6 separate regions of the Homo sapiens genome follow, and regions 1, 2, 3, 4 and 6 are each linked to region 5. The links are contacts of gene promoters, found by promoter capture Hi-C in blood cells and fetal thymus (Javierre and others, 2016). All regions are on one chromosome and are shown on one strand. The core of a region is centred on a gene start or on the middle of the fragment in contact, and the rest is flanking DNA. Distances in the headings are between cores, read along the strand shown. Region 1 overlaps RABGAP1 (RAB GTPase activating protein 1). Region 2 overlaps RABGAP1 (RAB GTPase activating protein 1). Region 3 overlaps RABGAP1 (RAB GTPase activating protein 1). Region 4 overlaps RABGAP1 (RAB GTPase activating protein 1). Region 5 holds the start of STRBP (spermatid perinuclear RNA binding protein). Region 6 overlaps STRBP (spermatid perinuclear RNA binding protein).

Region 1 (3,686 bases), core at 565-3,064, 170 kb after region 5:
GCCTCCTCCCAAAACCTGTTTATACAGCCATAAAATGAAGTAGGTGGTATAAAATCTTTTAGGTAAAGAGAAGTCTTACCCGAATTTTCTCAATTTCCACCTTATTGGCTGTCTGCTGCTTCTCCAATCTTTCACTCAACTGAGAACAAATCTAAAGAAACAAATATAAAACAACAATCTCTTGAGCAATTGTAATCATCTGCATAAATTCCATAGTGGAAGCTGGAATATGTAAATTGGAATTAACATAGTAGCAAATAGCCTGCTACCGCTCAGGAGGGGATATGAAGTCGATGGATAAGCAGGGGTTCTTCTAGCTATGCCGCCTCTGCATTCACTGGCCTAGGACTTGCAGAAACCAAGCAGCACCACACTCAATGGCCAATGGTTTCTGAACACCTGCCAGACTCATGAGCCAGCAAGAGATCCTAGTGTAGGAGGGAACAAGACCATTCTGTTATGTTCTTAAAACTCAACCAGTCAGGGAAATAACCGGTTTAAAACTACACGTAAACAAAAGTTCGTAATTCTGAATCTGAAATACATACCAAAACATACTGTGGTTTTAAGTACCTACTATGTGCTGGGCACTGCCAGGCACTCTACAAACATGGTCTTTTTAAATCCTCGTAACAACCTTCCTAGGCAGGGATGATTTTCCTTCTTTTACAACTGAGAATAAGTGAAGCCACTTGTCAGTGCAGGGGCAGAGCCAGGATCTGAAACCAGGGTGCTTGCATTTGGGTTTGGGGGTGGGGGGCGGGTATACATTTTATCCAGACTAGGGGCTCCCAGATTACACAGCCCAATCCCAGGGTACTGGAACCTACCTGCTTATAGTCACCAATGATAGAACTGTTTTTTTTAATCTCAGATTCTGCCTTGTCGAGTTCCCGACGGCACATTTCTTTTAACTGCACACATAAAAAAACAAAAGGGACTATGTTAACAGAAAAATAAAGGAAGTTCTGCCACCAACCGCTTAGTGCTAGGCTTCCCAAAAACTGCTGAACCAAACCCTGGAAGTCCTCTAATTCAGCTACTTTCTTCCTTCAATCTTGGCAGCACTAATCCCCTGTTCCTGATGCAGGAGAGGGAGAGAACAGTTAAAACTTCCAAAAACGTCAGACCCCATTTCAGATTGAGGCTTCTGCTGAAGGTCTTCCCTGCCAGTACAAGCCAACCTGTGGACCTTCACTGACAGACCAGACACAAACCAAAGAGCTCATAAGAGGACTGCGGGTTTTCAGCATCTCATGGTTTCTGTAGAAAGGGCTTTGCAGTCTCTCACCCCAGCCAGTCCTGCCTCCTGGACGACCGTGGTGTGACAGGGGAGGGGACTGCTCCCAGGCGCACAGCACCCAGAGCTCTTCCCATGCCTGCAGGTCTGTGTCTCCAATGACTATGGAGCACTGGCTCAGAACAAGACTTCCCAAGCTTGCTCTATGAGGGAGACAGCAGAGGACAAGTAGGGAAACAGCCAGGCATTATATGATGTGTGCTTTCCTTCTGCAGGAATTCTACCCCCTCTTCTTTGTTATGCTCAGATGCTGATACACAGAAATTCTCCTGCCCCAACAAAGGATGGGCTTCAACCCACTGTCTCCTCCTAGACTTTAATTAGGAACCATTGGACTTTACACAGTAGGGGGAAAAAAAAAGTCTTTGGAAAGAAACTGAAGCCAGATGTCTCTAGGTTTTCTAGTGCCAACAGGAAGCCACCAGCTGAACTCCCAGTTCTCAAGCATTTGCAAGACAGAGGAATGTGGGAGAGTTCCCTTACCTGAGCAGACTCTTCTTCCAGCCGTCTTTTCTCTTCTTCTGCATCAATCAACTTCTGTTTGGTCATCAGCAGCTCCTTATTCAGAGCATCTGCCTTTTCCTCAGCCTGAAACATTTAAGATATGCTGTCACAAAACAAGAATTGGGAACTGCAAAGGATTTCCATTACTTAGCATAATCCCATTTTAAGATGATGGGGAAACTCTGATTCAGAGAGGGGAAATTATATCCCCAGGGTCACAATGAGAATACACTCATGCATAAGTGCCTGTCCCAGTCTCTTGCTCAGAGGTAGTGCAGGGCAGTAGTTAGGAGCTTAGCCTTTGGCATCAGACAGCCTGGACTCATCGCCCATTGTTCACTGACCATGTGCCACTTGGACAAGTCATTGAGAACCTCTCTAAGCTTCCGGCTCTTCATCTGAGGGATAAGGCAAGAAAAGCATTCAGCACAGTGCCTGGAATACAGTAAACACCAATAAAAGGTAGCCATCATTATTATTAATAAACTGGTTTTCTTCCTCCAAGCTGTGTTTCCTCTGCTTCATCCAACCCGTCTGGCATTTTTCTCTTGTTATTACCTGATAAAGGAGGCTGCCCCTTTCCTGGCACTTTTTCTTATCTTTAATGGCCACTCTCCACTCCAGTCTTTTTCTAAAGCATGCAAAAGGTCTAGTGGGCGTATCTGTGAGTTCTAGTGAAAATGATATACTTTTGCCTGACATACGAGTTCCTGGTGCTGGGCACTCCAAAGATAACTGAAGAAGGACTGACTATACCATATTAGAGAAGACTCAAGGACTAAATACAGAGGGTCTCTGCTGGGCTCCTGATATGGATAGGATTTCCCTGAAATTCTGACATCACCTAAAGTAGTGTAACTGGGCCACTGAGTTTTCCACTATACTCTATTTCCTTTCCTGTATCTTCTTTGGAAGAAACAGGTTCCAGAGAGCTGGGTCCTTAAATGGGGAACTGGGCCAGGTGCGGTGGCTCACGCCTGTAATCCCAGCACTTTGGGAGGCCAAGGTGGGCAGATCACAAGGTGAGGAATTTGAGAACAGCCTGGCCAACATAGTGAAACCCTGTTTCTACTAAAAATATACAAAAAATTAGCCGGGCGTGGTGGCAGGCGCCTGTAATCCCAGCTACCTGGGAGGCTAGGGCAGCAAAATAGCTTGAACCCAGGAGGCTGAGGTTGCAGTGAGCCAAGATCGCACCATTGCACTCCAGCCTGGGCAACAGTGCGAGACTCAGTCTCAAAAGAGAGAGAAAAAAAGGTGGAACTGAGAATGGCATGATACGCAGATTCAAAAGGCCATTAATTACTGGCAAACTGCAAATGCACGCAATTAAATTGCGTGACTCTTTTATCATTAGGAAATGTCCCTCTTTGTCCTTGGTAATACCCTTTGTCCTCGGTAATACCCTTTGTCCTGAAATCTACTTTATCTGACATTTCTATAGCCAGTCCAGTTTTCATGGTATTGTGTGGTATGTACATCTTTTTCCATCTGTTTACTTTGGTAAAAGAGTGACTCTTTTATCATTATGAAATGTCCCTCTTTGTCCTTGGTAATACCCTTTGAAGGTGTAACAATCCAAAATGTATGCAGAAATTCAAATTACATGAAACAAATCCCTACACAACTAAAAGGAGAAAAAGAAAAATGCACAGTTAGAGTCACAGAACCTTCTACTGTGCTCTCTCAGGAAGCGACAGAACAAGCAGAGAAAATCAAGTTGTTCTACATAAGACTTGAGCACTATCAACCAATTTGGCCTAATTGACACAGTACACTCCACTCACAACAGAACATACATACTTTCCAAGTGTATGTGGTACATTCACCCAAATAGATTATATGATAAGCCATAAAATAAGTAATGGTATATTCTAAAAGG
Region 2 (3,544 bases), core at 889-3,388, 210 kb after region 5:
TTAATTGATGCTTTGGAATGAAGCCCATATGCCAGTTTTCAAATGGAAAAGAGTAGTTACTTAATTGGGATTTGTCCTAGAGGCAAATGGCATAAGAATGCACAAAGCAATCTACTCAGTATGAACAAGACCACCAAATGCCAAGGGATTCAAACAGGCTATGGGAAAATATCCTTTGCTTTTTCCAATGGACAAAAACTGTTTCCTCTTCTATAATGAGTTAACTAAAACGGAACAAATGTCAATAATGTCAACAAACCTTTGTAAAATACACCAAGCACCCAGTTATTTCTAATATTCTCCCCTTGTTAAATTTCATTTGCTGACACAGTAAAGAACTGGAACACAGAAATATGACCTTCTACTTTAACAATGCAGTGTCTTCATAGCTAAGACAATAGAGTTGATTCCCCTTGGTAAGAATACATCATAATCAGTATACTACCAAAGAACATGATACCTCTGTTTTAAGATGAAAAATGCAAGTGATGTTCTTCTCTTGTCCAATAATTTCTCTAGCCTTTTGGGTAATCATGTTCCGAAGGCCATGAATATTTTATAGTTGTGGGATCTGAACTAACTTTAAAGCCTATGCTCCTTCTTAAACAGTAAACTATTTATACCTTCAAGGATGTCGCCAAATTGCTTTTCAAAGAGCTTTAGTGGCATATGTTACTTCTAGTTATTAACATAGTCTTAACAGTTAATGGCAGCTCAGGACTGTGGTGCTCTTCAACAAAAGGAAAAAATCCAAGGGAGATCTATGACTACAGCAGCTAATTACATGGTGGCAGCTTCCAGACTGAATTAGAGCTCCGCGTTGGAGGTATCTTCAAAAGTTGAGAAAGTGGGAGAGAGAGGGAGAGCAAGCGAGAGTGAGAAAATGAGAGAGCGAGCGAAGTGAGCGAGAGTGAGAGTGAGAGCGAGTGAGAGAGCACGCACACAAATTTTGGGGCGGGCAAGGTAGCTAGAATTGTAGGGTAGAGTGCTAGTGAGGAATATGCTGAACAGAGAGCTGAAGAGTTAGAAGAGGGGTCGCTATGAGATATGAATTATAAATAAACGACAAGCTGGACACTTCATCAAAATTTAAAAATCTTACTATTCAAAAAACTGTTTAAAATATGAAAAGGTAAGTCACAGGCCAGGACACAATGCCTACAAAACATATCTGATAATAAAGTTGGAGTTGTATCCAGAATATATAACTCTCCAAATTAATGAGAAAGACAATTAATTTTTTAAAGTGGGAATGTGTAAATGATTGAGGTGTTTCATTAAGGAAGATATAACACATGGCAAATAAGCACTTGAAAAGATGTCAACATTACTAGCCCTCAGGGCAGTGCAAATTAAAACCACAATGAGATTCCACTACATATCTACAAAATGCTAAAATTAAGAAGTGTTGGCAAAGGATAAGAAACAACTGGAACTCCTATACAATGCAAAATGGTACAAACACTTTGTAAACAGTTTGGTGGTTTCTTACAATAGTAAACACATAATTACCATACAACCCAGTGATTCCATTCCTAGGTATTTACCAAAGAGAACTGAACATATAAATGCATGAAAAGACTTAAACTCAAATGTTTACAGAAGCTTTATTCCTAACAGCCAAAACTGGAAACAATCCAGAGAGAATCAGATGAATTTAGGAATTCTATAAAACAACAACAGAAGCTCTAAAAAATGCTAAGAATGATAAACTGTGGTTTAAGACAACTACGAAGGTTAGGAAATTAAATTGAGAATGGAGAGGAATATGGAAACGTTCAAAATATTTTACACCAGTTACATCAATCATATCACACTGATTACGGAGATGACAACCTGAAAAAGGATACAGTTATTAGAGATATGAGATTTGGGCTGGGCATGGTAGCTTATGCCTGTAATCCCAGCACTTTCAGAGGCTGAGACAGGTGGGTCACTTGAGGCCAGGAGTTTGAGACCAGCCTGGCAACATGGTGAAACCCTGTCTCTGACTACAAATACAAAAATTAGCCAGGCATGGTGGCAGGTGCCTGTAATCCCAGCTACTTGGAAGGCTGAGGCATGAGAATCGCTTGAGCCAGTGAAGCAGAGGCTATAGTGAGCCAACATCGTGGCACTGCACTCCAGCCTGGGCGACACAGCGAGACCTGTCTCAATTAAAAAAAAGAGAGAGAGAGGAGACGAGATTTAGAAATTCAACTGTACACAGGACGTAAAAAATAACAAAAAACTGAAAGTACTCTCTATAACTGGGCCAGTTCTTGTCAATTTGCCATCCCATATCCATTAATCATGGAATTATCAGAGAATGAAGGGGCAAAATGCCCTTAAAAGAAGGTCATTTTGAAAATTCACACTCAATTTTTGATGCCTTCAAGAATGATAATAAATTGAGGAGTTCCATGTGAATCATTTGCTTAAAATATTTGGCCTTAAGGAAATATGCTGAAGAACTTGGAATAAATTCATTTGACTTGCTGGAGGCCACATCATGCAAAAGTGATGCAGAAATTCTAATAATGATGAGTTTAGTAAGTTCCTATCAGAATGACATTAAATTTGAAAAGGTTCTGAAAATAAAACACAGCAACATTATGGATGATCCCCTAAGAGAAAAAAAGCAAAGAGCTTTTCAAAATAGTCAAAGCAAGTGCTTACAAAATTAAGCTTTATACAACAATATATATTCCTTTTCTTTCTTGTTTCGCTCTTGTCGCCCAGGCTGGAGTACAATGGAGCAATCTTGGCTCACCGCAACCTCCGCCTCCCTGATTCAAGCGATTCTCCTGCCTCAGCCTCCCAAGTAGCTGGGATTACAGGCATGTGCCACCACGCCTGGCTAATTTTTGTATTTTTAGTAGAGACGGGTTTTCTCCACGTTGGTCAGGCTGGTTTTCAACTGACCTCAGGTGATGCGCACGCCTTGACCTCCCAAAGTGTTGGGATTACAGCTGTAAGCTACCACACCCGGCCATATTCCTTTTATTTCTAAGGAGTTAAACATAAATGTAACTGATGTAGAGAGCCTGCCAATGCAACACATGTAACACTATTCGTGGCCAAACTGATCAAGTCAACCAAATACATCCTCTTAAGGAGGCTGTAGTTAGTATAATGGCTTAACAGACAAGTTTTTATAAATGTACTTACGGCAACAGTGCACAGATGGTGACTTTAAAAGAACACGGAATGAATGGCAAAAGTATTGTCAGTTGTTACGTTCTGAAAATTACTGCTGTTATAAGAGAGGTGGGTTGTTTTGTTTTGTTTTGTTTTGTTTGATCAACTGGTTTTGTGTTTTGGCTAATTCATTTATCCCAAGAAAAACACCCTTAATTTCCAGAAGAAAACAAAAATGCAATAGGATTATGCACTATTGCCATCTTGCAAACTTCTTCTATAAAGGGTCAGGTAAAAATTTTTGGCTTTGCAAGCCATTCAGTGCTGCAGTTATTCAACTCTTCCCTTGTAGAGCAGCCATAGACAATATGTAAATAAACAAGCACTGCTGTGTCCTAACAAAACTTTATTTATAAAAGCAAGC
Region 3 (3,649 bases), core at 733-3,232, 190 kb after region 5:
GAATTCCTTTTAGATCCTCTATCAGAAGTGGAACAATTTTTCTATCTCAGGTCACTGACCCATAAAGCGGGAGAAGTTCAATGGATAGCTAAATGAGTTCTAAGGTACACTGTTAAATTTTAGTTTAGGAGCAGGGGATCTAAACTCCTCAAGAAATAAGTAAAACATTTCAGTTCCATAATAAGTTCACTTTAAGGAGAAAGAGGGAGAATAGGAGAAGTAAAAGGCCTGAAAAAGACAAAAGTAGAGAGGCAAGTAAGGACTGAGACAGACAAAGATTTATAAAGAAAAAAAAAAAAATTTCCAAGGGCACCGAGAAGAAGATAGACATTTTTGAGCAACACACCCATCTTGTGGCCATTTCAGATACTGCCACACCAAATTTAATTCTTGAACCTTTGCAATGGTAAGAGACAGTGGAATGCGTTGGAAAGCATTGGGAACATAAGAGTCAGAGGCCTCAGTTCTACTAGGGTGGTCTGTCACTATACAGCTGGTATGACTTGGGTAAGTCACTTGATGTGCCCTATTGTATCTCACAGGGTATTGTGAGGAAGAAATAAGATGCTTTTAAGAACTATATCAATACTACAAATTACAACAATATCATAATATTAAAACACAACAATGGTCGGCGCAGTGGCGCACACCTGTAATCCCAGCACTTTGGGAGGGAGAGGTGGGTTGATCACTTGAGTCCAGGAGTTCGAGACCAGCCTGGGCAACACAAAGAGACCTTGTCTCTACACAAAATAAAAAAAAAAAATTAGCCAGGAAATGGTGGTGCATGCCTGTACTCGCAGCTACTTGAGAGGCTGACATGGGAGGATCGTTTGAGTCTGGGAGGTTGAGGCTGCAGTGAGCCATGACTGTGCCACTACATTCCAGCCAGGGTGACAGAGCAAGACCCTTCTCAAAAGACCAAATATCACAACAATGACAACAAAAGTAGCTATCTTTTTCCTAGACTGGCATGTGAGGCAAAATATTTCCAATTCTCACCTTGATTATCAGGAAGTACAGTTAACCCTTGAACAACACGAGTTAGGGGCACTGACGCCCTGCGCACCTGAAAATCCACGTGTAACTTCTGACTCCCCCAGAATTTACTTACTAATGGCTTACTATTTACCAGAAGCCATAATGAAAACATAAAGTCAATTAATACATATTTTGTACATTATAGGTATTATGTACTGAATTCCTACAATATAACAAGCTAGAGAAAATATTAAGAAAATCGTAAGGAAGAGAAAATATATTTACTATTCACTAAGTGGAAGTGGATCATCATAAAGGTCTTCATCCTGGTTGTCCTCATGATGGGTAGGCTGAGGAGGAGGAGGAAGAGGGGTTGGTCTTTCTGTCTCAAAGGTAGCAGAGGCAGAAGTGGAGGAGGCAGAGGTAGAAGGGGAGACAGGAGGCATAGTTGGTATAACTTTTATTGAAAAAAATCCACGTATAAGTGGACCCATGCGGTTCATACCATGTTGTTCAAAGGTCAACTGTACAACTGAGTAAACCAAGCCACAATTTACAAACATTTAAAAAATAATGGAAAGAGATTTCAGTGAGTTGCAGAGCAAAAGTTACCTTTGTAAATTCCACATGAAAAAGTTCAAAAGCTTGTTTCCAAACAAGCTTTTGGAACCACATATCATGAACCGCCCTTTCGAGGTCTAATGGACTCAAACCACAGATCCTCATGTGTACTCATACCTCACGCAAGCCACAGAATGCAGGGCTCAGGATGCACTTGCCAATGACTTCCTAATTTTGAACTGGCAAGTTACCACTGAATTATCACTTTGCCCATAACAGGTTCAACTATTGTGTGTATCTCTCTTAAAATTTTTTGGTATTAAGTATAGCTGCCAGAAGACAACAAATCATCACTAACTAAACTGTACATACCATAGCTCACCTTCTGGCAGAAAAATCCCATTCTCTTATGTTCTGGTGAATCTGTACTCTTTTCAGGCTATGAGCCGATTTCAAGAAAAACTACTATCTCACCTGAAATCATGTGCAAATAGGGGGAAACATCCAAAGTGTACCCCAAACATGCAAAGTTCTCCAGGTCTAGAAGGAATTATATATCTAAGCACAAAATATATGTGCTGTGCAGACACACTGAAGGCAGCCTTGTCAGACTTAACTCATTGAAGGCATAGGCAAGAAAAAAAAAGACATTAGATACCTCCTATCTGGACTTTCCCCACCTTTCCATATATGGAAATAAAGGATCCATATATTATTAAAGTGTTTCAAGCTAATGGGAATCCAAAAGGTAAAACTTCTGGCTGGAAACTATTAAGCTTTGCCCAAATCCATGTTAACTCTTCTTTGTAAAACACATGGTAGACACTCAACAGTGTATTTATTCATTCACTTATTCAATCGATATTTATAAGCGAGATCCTGTTCCTGGTACTGTGGATTCAGCAGTAAGCCAAAGAGATTGTCTCTTCTGCTGCACAGCCTCCATTCCAGTAGGGAAAAATAAGATAGGATAAGGACGTAATGGCATAAAGGTTGGGGGAGCTGCTACTTTAGATACTGCAATTTGAGAAGCTGTGGATATATGAGCCGAAGACTGGATGAGGGGACAGTGAAGCCATGCAGACATTCAGGAGAACATTACAAGCAGAGAGACTGACCAGTGCAAAGGTCTGAGAACAGCAAGGAGGCCAGCGTGTCTGAATTGGAAGGAGAAGGGGGAAACGTAGTAGGAGAAAGAATCAGAGTTTAAGGAAAAACTCTAAAATCCAATGAATCTTTATGTATAAAACCGTTCACATCACAACAACAAAAATTTAAACAAGAGTGGCGGGCCGGGTGTGGTGGCTCACACCTGTAATCCCAGCACTCTGGGAGGCTGAGGGGGGTGGACCACTTGAGGTCAGGAAGTTGAGACCAGCCTGGCCAACATGGCGAAACGCTGTCTCTACCAAAAATACAAAAAAGTGGCTGGGCATGGTGGTGCACCTGTAATCTCAGTTACTTGGGAGGTTGAAACAGGAGAATTACTTGAACCCGGGAGGCGGAGGTTGCAGTGAGCTGAGATTGCGCCACTGCACTCCGGCCTGGGTGACAAAGCGAGACCCTGTCTCAAAAAAAAAAAAAAAAAACAAAACAAAACAAAAAAACAAAAAAACAAACAACAACAACAAAAGCAAACAAATTTAAAAAAGAAACAAACAAGGGGGCACAGTTAAATAAACTGTAGCACAGTGAGGCAAATTCAAGCAGAGGAATTATATAACCATTTACAACTGATTATTTACACACAATATCTCAGTGAGGAAAATCCGTATAATTGCATGAAACAGGAAGAAAAATGATACTGACTGTATGAACTCAATTATTTAAGAATGCATAAAAAACATTTGGAAAGAAAAGGAGCAAAATTGAATGCAGGATGCCTCTGGATGGTGGAAACGTGAGTTTTCAGCAAAGGAGACATGCGATAGAGAAGAGCCAGGGAGGGAGCCACTGTGGAAACAGGAAAGGATGATGATGGTTAGATTAGGATGTTAATAATGAAGGTGGCGGTGATCAGAGTCAGGATATATTCTGACGACGAGCATAGATGTGGAGTGTGAGAAAGAGAGGAGTCAAGAGGACAGCAAGGTTTTTGGCCTGAGCA
Region 4 (3,411 bases), core at 104-2,603, 230 kb after region 5:
ACAGTAATGATTTTTATTTGCAAAGCACTTTACAATTTACAAAGTACTTTCACATCTATTATCTAACGCAAGCCCCAAACTAACCCTATGAGGTATGAAGGGATCAATATTTCCTTCTAGGAGAAATTAAGCATTTAGAGAAGTGACTTGCCCTCATTTACAAAACTACTTAATTAGAAACAGAAGCCTACATTTTTTTATTCTCAGTTCCAACTTCATTTTTACTATATGATGCCCTTTTGTCATGCAAATTTTGAAGAAAGGCCAAATGACTCGTTTACAGCCATAAGAAATGTCTACAATATTTCCAAGGTCTGCAACATAATATTAATAATATATAAATTTAATATAAATACTTAATATTTTTTTCTTCAACCTGAAATGAAAAAAATTACACAAAAGTCAACACACAAAATGATTTATGAGGACTTCAAAAAATCTCAATGCCACAGTTTTCCCATTCTTAAATTTCCCAAAATTTGCTCATGTAACAATACATTTTGGCTTGCTGGTAATTTCACCAACAACTATGAAACAAAAACATACTCAGTGAAATTAAAACAATTCCTATACCAAGTCAACATGCAGATTTTTCAAACAAACCTGAAAAGCTGAGGAAACCCTCCTAGAAACCACTCCACCATCTGGGCCATCTGGGAGTCTAACCCTGCTGCTTCATTTTCAAGTTCAAGGAGGTGGGCAATGCATTTACGGTAAAAAAAAATTCAAGTTTTCCCAATCCTTAAAATACTGAGACCATTATTCAAGTAAAAAGTAAAAGCCATTATAAAAGGCTTGAAAAGAATTTATCCAGCAATAAAGCTTAAAGAAAACCTTTTCCAAAATGGAATTTTGAGTAAGAGTCAATAGGCCCGTGAAAAAAACGCAAATATCCAATCTAGTGTCAGGATAATGCTCTCACTAAAGTTGAGCACACTAGTCCATTTGTAATTGCTTTTCTACTCTAAGAAGGGGGAAAAAACCACTTTCACTGAAATCACTGCATTAAAAAATACAACTAGTTTACAAATATAACATCAGTATAATCCTACTTTAAAATTTACTATGAAATAATTTCAACATAATCACCAAAAGTATATGTTTCCTCTGATACCAGTCACATGCCATATAAAGTTAAATGAGCTATCCCGCCAACGCCATGGTAACTGAATCTAAAAATACATTTTTTTTGAAGTCAGACTGGTATTTAAACTAAATGTCATCAAATGTTGCATTAAATATGCCAGGATGAAAAGTTCAGTTAAACATGAACTTTCCAAATATATCACACAGAAAACACCCCCAGCCACTAAAGGGGACACTACTGTGTCCAGGAGCATCTCCTCTCTCCCAACACATACACACACAACAAAATAAGATCAAACCTGCTGATTTAATATCAATTTTTCAACAAAAATTAAGTGTTTAAAATTGCCATATTTTCTAAACTAAAAATTCATAAGCAAACTGCAAATGTGAACAGGTTACATTCTCTAACATGTATGAAAAAAGGTAAATTTTGGTTTTTTAGATCTGTACCACTTAAAGGGAAAATGTATACAATACAACCATTTTTCAGAATCTAACAGAAAAGGTTTCCCATTTGAAATGGCAATTTAACCAAGCCATTTCTAACATAACTTGCAATTTCAGTATGAGTTCTAAATTTTGAAGCAGCTTAGAATAAAATTTGCTAACACTAAACATAAAGAGCAAGCAAGGTTTTGGGAAAAACCCAGAATCTGAAGTTTGAATGTTTATGTAATGCTTAGTCACTTAAAATAAAAAAGTTTAAATAGAACACAACTGAGGTTAAAATCAAGTTGATGTCTAAAGCCTAAAATCATAAGAACACTGGCATCATGATGGAAAACCAAAGCTTATCTGCCTGCTTTATAAATATCCATGTCCTTTCTTGGATTCAGAAATCCACTTTAACCCATGTCCCCTGGGTTTCTTCCATCTTCCATCTCACTGAACACCACTGTCGCATTCAGATTACAACCTCTAGCCAAAGGCAGAGATCAAGTAAGTCCCTTGAAGACTTCCAGAACATTTCCAGAACAGCAGAAAAGTAGAGGAAATACTCTCGTGCCTGGAGCTGCCGGAATTCCTTCTCTCCTTTTAGAAAAATAAACCTCTTGCTCTAAAGATAATCACTTTTAAGAACAAACATCACTACTACATACAAACACACATAACTCTCAATAATAATTCTATAGAAGAATTATAAAATCCTATAGGTTTTTCTAGTACTTTGGCAGGAAAAAAAAAAAAGACCATTAAGAACTGTATGCCAAAGGATTTTTTTTCCAGAGAGAAAATAGCAATAAGAGACTTAAGTGTTTTCCCTTCTCCTCTTCAAATGTGGATTCCTTAGCACTAACTGAAAGAATACTTTTCAAAAATAACTAGTTGATTCCATTTAACCACAAAGAAAATGTCTCAACTACCTTGTATTTTAAAAAAACAATCTGTATACTACGGTATACTTTCTGACTCAGTTGCTTATGACCGACACCCTTCTCCCTGATGTTCTAATATTTCAGAAGTCTTTGAATAGAAAGAACAGACAATATTAAAGACACATTTTTGTATATAGTCACCATTATAAAATGGACAGCCAACAGCCTATCACTGAATTACTTTTTAGCTTAAGCACATTTTGCTGTAAAAGAGAAATCTAACAATTCAGATATTCTAAATATAGACATAACACAAAGGCATGGGCAAAAGTACTACACGATTACTTCTACGCACACATATCTTTAGATCTCTGTGAAGCATGGCACAAAAAGTAGCTCAGTTTTTCATAAATTGTATAATTTGATTGCACTTTTGCTTCATGGTTCACTGTAAAATTCTAAAATTAATGTTTATGTGTTCACATTATTCACCCTACTGAGAATTCTCTCAAGAGAATAAAACACAGAACATTTGGCTTTCTAAATGACAGTGTTGAAACTTGCAGTGTAGTTATGCTTTGGCATACATAAAAAGTAATTTCTAAAACCTTTTCATTTATATTTTACTATTCCGTTAGAAGAAATCAATTGCATATGAAGCCCAAATAGCTGGAAAGAGCCCAGAAAGTGACAAGAAAGTGATGACTTTTTAAAATGCTGACGCTTTTCACACTCAGGTTCAGTCATGCCAGCTGGAAAGAGGTGTTAGATATGGCTTTATTCATTTTAAATCTGAGAACTGTAGTCATTTCCAAGACATTTCAAAAATTGAGAGCAAGAGCAATTTGTCTTCATGATCTTGAGTCTTCTAATTCACAAGCACTTTTGAAAACCATTTCTACAAACTTAGAAGGTATCCATACGAATAATTTGTATGCTATTGTTTAGAGTCAAAGTATTCTGTCCCAGATTTCCTAGTGAATTAGGAATACTTAGAGATAAAATA
Region 5 (3,346 bases), core at 285-2,784:
GCCAAGGATCTCCAGAGAATATACTCTGAGCTGATTGATAAGGATACCCAGGATTTTTTTCAGGAGGGTCAAGGAAGGTGTGAGTGGTCAGAGGTGGGGAGAGGGTTTAGAAAGGGATTTGCGGCCTGGCATCTGTCTCAGGAGACTCAGGCTCCTACACACCTGGGCATACTCTGGAAACAACAGTACTGTAGTTCTGTGTGGCTGGAGGGTCACATTGGCCTGAAGGAGGGGCAAAGGGAAGGGCGTGCACCTTGAAGCTTAAGGCCAGATCACCAAGGCCTTTTCAGTTGAAATTGGGTTTTTTACACTTTATTCTGTGAATGAAACAGAGCTGTTAAAATATTTGAGCCTGGTGTGTTAGAAAGATGAAAAGGGGCCCCAAGGGGGCTGTTGTGGGGAGTCCCTCCTCAACCCCTGGGCTGTTCAAGGTCCTCTGTCTTGGCACTGAGTGGTCAGGTCGTTTCTGCTCCAGGCTGGGAATTGTCTTAGGGCAAAGACATTGTCTCATTTGCCAGTGCATCCCTGCAGCCTGCAAACCCCCCGGTATACAGCAGGGACTGTATACTGGCAAGCAGAATGCTGGGCACCAAGAACTTGAGGCCAGGGACTGTAGAATAGAAAGCGAACCTTTAATTCTTCCCCAGCGCCGCCCCTGGCACAGAGCTGGTAGGTGTTCAGCCAAAGTCTGACCCAACCATAAGGAGGTCAGAGAGGTCCTGGGCCCAAACTCAATCCCAGCGAGGTTCATTATAGGCAGGTGAAGGAGAGGTGATTGTAGCAGCTTCTGTTCAGCGACTGCTGTGTGCCAGGATTCACACCTATTGTCTTATGCCATCTCCCCAACAGCTCCTAAATTGGAATTATTGTCCCAGTTTTCCTGATGAGGAAACTGAGGCTCAGAACGGTTCTTGGTAACTTGGCCAAGGTCACACAGCCAGCAAGTAGGTGGGCGGTGGCACAAGTCAAAGCCTACTGGCCTGCCCCTCTACCTCGGGAGGCAGTGCGACGCCTACTCCATTTGTGTGGCTGCTGGGGTTGGGGGGCATCCCGCACTGGGGTGCGGGGCCCGGGGAAGGCGGCTAGCCGCCGCGGCTCGGCGCAGCTCCCAGGTTCGGAAGTTACGAAGTTTCCGTGCATTTCGCTAGCCTCCCAGCGCAGCTCGTCTCCGCTCCGCCGCAGTTACGCCGCTAGCGCAGCGGGGCTCAGGTGCTGCAGCGAGCGGGGGCCTGGGGCCGGGAGGAAGGCGGGGACGCAGTTTACGTAAGCGTCCGCTGGCAGGTGCATAAGGCCGCCGGCGGCGAGTGCTCCCTGCGCGCTCCCAGGTGCGCACTTGGCGCAGGCGGCGGCACAGCAAGGCGGCGGCGGGCGCTGGCCGGCGCTCTCAGGTGCGGCAGGACGCGCGTGGAGGGGGCGCGCGGCGAACGAGGGGGCGGGCTTTCCGTTCCCCAGCAGCCGCGGGGCCCGCCCCCTGGCCTGGCCAATGGGCGCGCTCGACGGTGTCACGTGCTCGCTGCCGCCGCTGCCGCCGCCGAAGCGGAGACCGGAGCCGCGAGCGCCACCAGGGCAGCAGCCGCCGCAGCCGCCGCCGCTGGGCAGAGGAGCCGGAGACGCGAGCGGGCGAGGTGGCGGCGGCGGCGGAGCGGGAGCGGGTACCGGGCGCGGGCAGAGCGCGGCGGCGCGGGTAGGCTCCGGCGGCGGGGCGGGCGCCTGCGCGGCGGGCCGTCCCGGGCGGGCGGCGGTTAAGGCGGCGGTTGAGGCGGTTGGCGGAGCCGGCCCGGGCCCCGCATTGTTTGTTGTGCGTCCTTAGCAGCGGCGGCGGCGGTGGCGGCCGAGGCGGAGAGCAGGGAGCAATCCCGGCCCCGCGGCTCCGGCATTGTGGCCGCCGCCGCCGCCGCTGCGGTGCCCCGGCCGCTTCGGGCAAGGGCAGCGGGCAGCCTTCCTCACCTTCGCGGGGACGGGGTCCCGGCCGATCAGGGGAGGGCGTGGGCAGGGTTGGGGGACGCGGTGCCGGGAGGTCTTCCGGGACGGAGGGCTCGGGGCTCGGGGCAGGTGTTGGAGGACATTGGGGGCAGGAGCTGGGGAGAGGCTTCGGGGGGCAGGCGGAAGGTGTGGGCAGATTTGGGGGTAAATAGGGGTGCAGAGGGATCCGGCCCAATGGAGGAGGAGAGCCTTCAGGCAGGTTTGGGGGGCCCCCTGGGCCAGGCGAGTGCGAGATGGAGGACATTCCGTCCGGTGGGGGGGGGCACTATATTGTGGGGTTCAAGAGGGAATGAGGGGGCTTTTGGGGAGGGCAGGGACGAGTGGGGTGGGAATGGAGGGAGAAGACTGGGGACTCGAGCAGGACTGGAAGGAGCGCTGCGTGCCAGGGGCAGGGAGTGGGGCGGGTATTAGGAAGGCCACCGGGACGCCCGTGAAGGGGAACGATGGAGGAGGGGGTCGGGGCAGGGGGAAGTGAGGGCAGGCAGGGAGCGCCTGAAAGGGAGGGAGGGGAGCAGGGTGCCTAGGCTTCTGGGGTGATAGGGAAATGAAGGGTAGGCCCAGGGGCTCCAGGAGACCTGCGAGGGGTGTGAGGGAGTGTGTGGCCAGGTGTATAGGGGAGCCTGCAGGGAGGCGGGAGGGGGTTGACATGTAAGGATAAAAAGGCAGGTATCTGGTGCTCAGGGAAGAGGAGTATGGGGTGGAAGGGGGAAGTTCATTGGGGCAGAGACTTAGTTTGAGGGCTTGCAGAGAGAGGTGGGGACAGTAGGAGAAGGGTGATGGGGATGGAGAGCAGGAGGTGTGTGGGGCATTTAAAGGATAGCGGGAGAAGTGCGTGAAATGGAGGGTGTTTATGCAGGAAGTATGGAAGAAGGTGGGATCAGCAAGAGAGGGAATTTTGAGGTAGGACGGAGGGTGAGGGGTTCTTGGCAAGTGTTGGAGGACGTTAGGGGCAGGAGCTGGGGGAGAGGGACAGGTGTGGGGTGGCGTGGAGTGTGTGAGGTGGAGGGCAAAAGGGGGTGGGGAAAGGGAAGTGTTCTTGGAGTGGCAGGTAAAGTGTGGGGACAAATGGAAGGAAAGATTTCTGAGGCGGGAAGTGTGGAGCGGTTGGGGAGGAGGAAGGTGGAGGGGAGGGTGAGAACGAAATCAGTAGAGGGGGACAACGGGATAGACTGGAGGGGAAGGTGGACAGGTCTGGAGTACAGTAGGTGGAGGGAGGGAAGCACAGGTTTGGGGCACTGAATTTTGTGCTGTAGGGAGAAGGGAGGTAGGGAGAAAGAAGGAAGGTAGACAGGCTATTTTGGGGTAGAGGATGTAGAAGAATGCTTAATACCTATAGTGGAGTAAGGGAAGGGCAAGGCAGAGG
Region 6 (3,711 bases), core at 221-2,720, 140 kb after region 5:
ATCAAGATAAAATTGTCATGAAGATTGGGTCTTATCCAGTCATTGTTTTTTAGGTAACATCCCTAAGGGTTCACTTTGTGCTTTCCTCTAAGAAAGAATAAGACTAGGCCATTTGGGAAATTTTATGATGTGGCTTTGGAATGATTCTTCTAGAAGATAATCCTAGTAGGTAAATTGCTCAAGGAGTGTGCCTGCTTTGGCACACAGCAGACATGGATTTTGTTCTCATGCAGCTTACAGTCTGAAGGGTGAGACGTAGATTAATCAAGTAATAACAACGAGAAACTGAGATGAGTATGATGAAAAAGAAGGACATGCTGCTGTGAGAGCATGTAACAGAGAAACCTGGTCTAGTTTAGTGGGTCCCTGGAGGCTTCCCAGAAGAAGGGACATTTGAATTGGGCTTTGAAGAATGAATAGGAGTTAACTCAAAGAAGACTGGGATGGGAGAGTGTTGCATACAGAAGGAACAGCATGTGCAGAGACCTTGTGTTGCTGTTGGGGAATTTGGCTCAATTGAAGAAGCAGAAGTCCAGAATGTGTGGAATGTGGTGAGCACTGAGTGGCAGAAGTGGAGAGACTGGGGAATGATGTGAATTAAAGCTGGATGACTCAGTCCCAGACCTGGAGGCCGTTGTTTGGATTTTGGTCTTAGAACCCTAAGCACAGTGTTAAGTCTTGATGGGTTCTTAGGAGAATAGTGACAAGATCAGACTTTATTTGTGAAGGTTAGTCTTTCTATAGTGTGAAGAACAGGAGGTAGGGATAGGTGTGAGCATTGACAAGATCAGTTAGAAGGCATATAGTTTACAGTAATGTATTGTACATTTCAAACTGGCTAGAAGAGTTCAAATGGTTCTAGCATAAAGAAAGGACAAATATTTAAGATGATGGGTATCCTAAGTTCACTGATTTGATCTTTATAAATTACATGGGTATATTAAATTATCACACGAACCCCGGAACTATGTACATCTATTATGCCTCAGTTAAAAAAGGGCTACTGAAGACTACTAACCCAGGCAAGAGACATTGATAGTATTGCTACTGGAGGCAGGGAAGAAGAAAGGGGGAGACCAGAAGAGAACAGATGGGAGGAATATAAAGGAAGCAAAATTGGTGTATTGAATATATAGAAAGAAGAGTGATGTTTCAAGGATATCTCAGCTCCTAGGGTTTTTAGCTGGAGCATTGGGGGAAAAGGAAAAGGTTATGAATTTCTTATGGTGTGACATAGTTTATGAGTCTAAAATTAAGACAGTCTTCTGTGTGTCTCACTATTTCTACTGATATTTAATAATTTTAGCCTTATTCAGTGTATTATTGAAAGGGCAAAGCTTTCATTCACAATAATAGGCGGGTTATAGAGATGAACTATCTTTCTTGTCTTTGATGATGTGTTCTATTGGGGCTTAATCTGGTCACGTCTCTTGTTGCCGCGGACCATTTACCACCTGCTAGAGTGGTAAATGGCTATGGTCCAGTGGCAGTAATCATGAAAGGAACCGTTTATGGCCACTCGTTGCCAGGCTTTACTCTATAGTGACTCCTCTCTTGTGTCATTGCATTGACCTCCCTGAAAGGCCTGTGTCCCGAAGCTTTTAAAAATGAAGTTATTTTATGGCCGAGACAAGATTCAGATTAGGTCCCTTTAGATTATGAATAGGTTATATACCATTTGCACAGTATATTCTGTGCAGCAGGGACTGTTGTCAGTATATTTACATGTATTATTTAATTAAATTCCCCTGGCAACTCAGTTACTGTACATAGAACACTGAAGCTCAGAGAGGTTAAATAACAGGTGCCATTCACAGATACCTTGCTAGGAAAAGGTGAAGTTAGAATCAGGACTCCAGTGTCCTGATGAATGACCTAGTTAGTACTTGTGGTCTCATTTCTTCTTAAGGAGGTTTTGGTATAATCCTTAGAACTGCAGCCTTAGCCAAACAGCTTCTGTTTTCTGGAATAAATTTGATAGCTAACCTTTTTTAAGCATTAATTTCTTTTTTGGCCTCTGATCTGTCTCCTCTTCCTACTGCTTATTTCAGCTACATGTGTCCTCTTGAATATGATTTAGTGAGCACTCAGACTGAGTTATATGACTTAACTATAGACTAAAAAGTAAAAATTGTTCATCCCTCAGAACTGTTTCAGTTGGTCCCTAAAAGCAGTTTACTTCTTCAGCATACATTTGAATGCGTTGTCTCAAACAGGAGATTTAGAACTTGGCATTCAGAGAAGACCTAGCCTCTGCCCCAGTGACTGCCTGGGGTAGGACCAGATAATTGAATAAACACAATGCAATATGATGCAAGTATAACATGGGTTGGGCAAAAGAGAGAACAGCAAGTCTGGGAGACTTTGTAGGGGAGGTGATAATTGATCCTGTTCTCAAGGGTGAGTTGCAGTTGGTCATCCAGAGAAGGAGGGAGTGAAATCATTCTGAATAGCAGAAGTGGTTACAAAAAAAGGAGTGGTAATGTGAAAAAGCTCCATTTGTTTTGGGTACTGTGTAAAAGTGCCATGGTGATTTTGTGCCCTTGTTCTACTTTAGAAATTTTTTTCATTTATAAATGAATAAGTTGTTGTTATTATTATTATTATTGAGACATGATCTCTCTCTGTTGCCCAGCCTGGAGTGCAGTGGTGTGATCATGGCTCACTGCAGCCTCGACCTCCTGGGCTCAAGTGATCCTCCCACCTCAGCCTCCTGAGGAGCTGGGACTACAGGCATGCACCACCATACCCAGCTAATTTTTTGTTTTTCTGTAGAGATGGAGTCTCACTATATTGCCCAGGCTGGTCTCTAACTCCTGGGTTCAAGCAGTCCTCCTGCCACAGCCTCCAAAATTGCTGGGATTACAGGCATGAGCCACCACACCTGGCCCCAAGTAATTTTTATCTACATATTACCTATATCTAAGCTGTTTTACTAAAAGAGTAAAAAGATTGCAGCTTCTGTTAATATAGGTAATATTTCTAATCCCTACTAATATGGTATAAAAACTTCTTTGTACTTGCTTTTACTTAATAATGTGAGCCTTTTTCATAGGTACCAGAGGCTGATGTCAAATTCACCAGCATTTACAGAGAGACCCTGTACTTGGGCCAGAAATTGAAATATCAGCAAGTCATAGACCTTGCCCTTGGGCTCACGACCTGACTCATGTGCCTGTTTTAATGGCCATTGAGACCTCAGCCTGCTCTCTCACTACTTTCTGAAGATACTTGGAAAGTTCTGTTTGCTAACTTTGAGAGATTGGTAGTTTGAGTGGTTTTAAGTATTCTTTTGTTCAACAAATTATATTTAGAGAGTGGCTACTATATATATCATACATTCTGCTAGGTTCAGATGATGCGACGACGGATAAGTTTGACCAGGTCTATGCTACTCTAGTGGGGAACCCAGACAAGGAACTGATAGTTAATAGAGTGTGGGGTCAGTGAGTGCAGTGAGAAAGAGATGTAGGACAGTCTGGCACATCTAGGAGAGCCTTGTAGGCCATGGTGAGGAGCTCCCACATCTTAAGCAGGCACACAGAGAGTGGCTAGACTGGGACCATTCTGGCAGTGGTTCTCATTCATCCAACATCTGGAAGAAGTCCTCCGGGCCCAGGGTGCTGAGCAGGTGGTGCTTGTGAATTGGGCCAGTGATGATTGCCCTGGGTCTTGGACTGATCTGCCTTCTTCTTCTTTGCACTAGGCTAT

The links. The method cuts DNA at HindIII sites, captures the fragments that hold promoters and counts their contacts. A CHiCAGO score of 5 or more calls a contact.
Region 1: a contact is called between a fragment that was not itself captured here and the fragment with the promoter of STRBP in region 5, in 2 of 17 cell types (naive B cells and total B cells). The highest score is 6.5, in naive B cells.
Region 2: a fragment that was not itself captured here is called in contact with the fragment with the promoter of STRBP in region 5 in 3 of 17 cell types (naive B cells, activated CD4 T cells and total B cells); the score reaches 6.9 in naive B cells.
Region 3: a contact is called between a fragment that was not itself captured here and the fragment with the promoter of STRBP in region 5, in 7 of 17 cell types (naive B cells, total B cells, naive CD4 T cells and 4 more). The highest score is 10.4, in naive B cells.
Region 4: a contact is called between a fragment that was not itself captured here and the fragment with the promoter of STRBP in region 5, in 1 of 17 cell types (naive B cells). The highest score is 5.1, in naive B cells.
Region 6: a fragment that was not itself captured here is called in contact with the fragment with the promoter of STRBP in region 5 in 2 of 17 cell types (total B cells and naive B cells); the score reaches 6.6 in total B cells.

The regions. Positions count from the first base shown.
Region 1 is chr9:123,095,943-123,099,628 of GRCh38, reverse strand. It overlaps RABGAP1 (RAB GTPase activating protein 1), which reads right to left. Exons shown (of 26, transcript NM_012197.4): 22 at 1,784-1,888; 23 at 831-914; 24 at 80-151. Among named protein-coding and RNA genes, the nearest start is that of MIR600, 14 kb to the left of the region's middle. The HindIII fragment of the contact is 750 bases long and covers 1,440-2,189 here.
Region 2 is chr9:123,061,418-123,064,961 of GRCh38, reverse strand. All of the region lies in intron 13 of RABGAP1 (RAB GTPase activating protein 1), which reads right to left. It also overlaps the pseudogene LOC100422501. Among named protein-coding and RNA genes, the nearest start is that of GPR21, 30 kb to the right of the region's middle. The HindIII fragment of the contact is 1,062 bases long and covers 1,608-2,669 here.
Region 3 is chr9:123,078,722-123,082,370 of GRCh38, reverse strand. The region is part of intron 19 of RABGAP1 (RAB GTPase activating protein 1); the gene reads right to left. Among named protein-coding and RNA genes, the nearest start is that of MIR600, 31 kb to the left of the region's middle. The HindIII fragment of the contact is 677 bases long and covers 1,644-2,320 here.
Region 4 is chr9:123,035,683-123,039,093 of GRCh38, reverse strand. The region is part of intron 13 of RABGAP1 (RAB GTPase activating protein 1); the gene reads right to left. It also overlaps a transcript of GPR21 not described here. Among named protein-coding and RNA genes, the nearest start is that of GPR21, 3.7 kb to the right of the region's middle. The HindIII fragment of the contact is 1,057 bases long and covers 825-1,881 here.
Region 5 is chr9:123,266,774-123,270,119 of GRCh38, reverse strand. It overlaps STRBP (spermatid perinuclear RNA binding protein), which reads left to right and starts at 1,534. Exons shown (of 19, transcript NM_018387.5): 1 at 1,534-1,684. RefSeq lists silencers at 1,109-1,588, 1,759-1,808 and an enhancer at 1,208-1,708. The HindIII fragment of the contact is 5,570 bases long and covers 263-3,346 here.
Region 6 is chr9:123,128,254-123,131,964 of GRCh38, reverse strand. STRBP (spermatid perinuclear RNA binding protein) reads left to right here. Exons shown (of 19, transcript NM_018387.5): 18 at 3,707-3,711. Among named protein-coding and RNA genes, the nearest start is that of MIR600HG, 15 kb to the right of the region's middle. The HindIII fragment of the contact is 261 bases long and covers 1,340-1,600 here.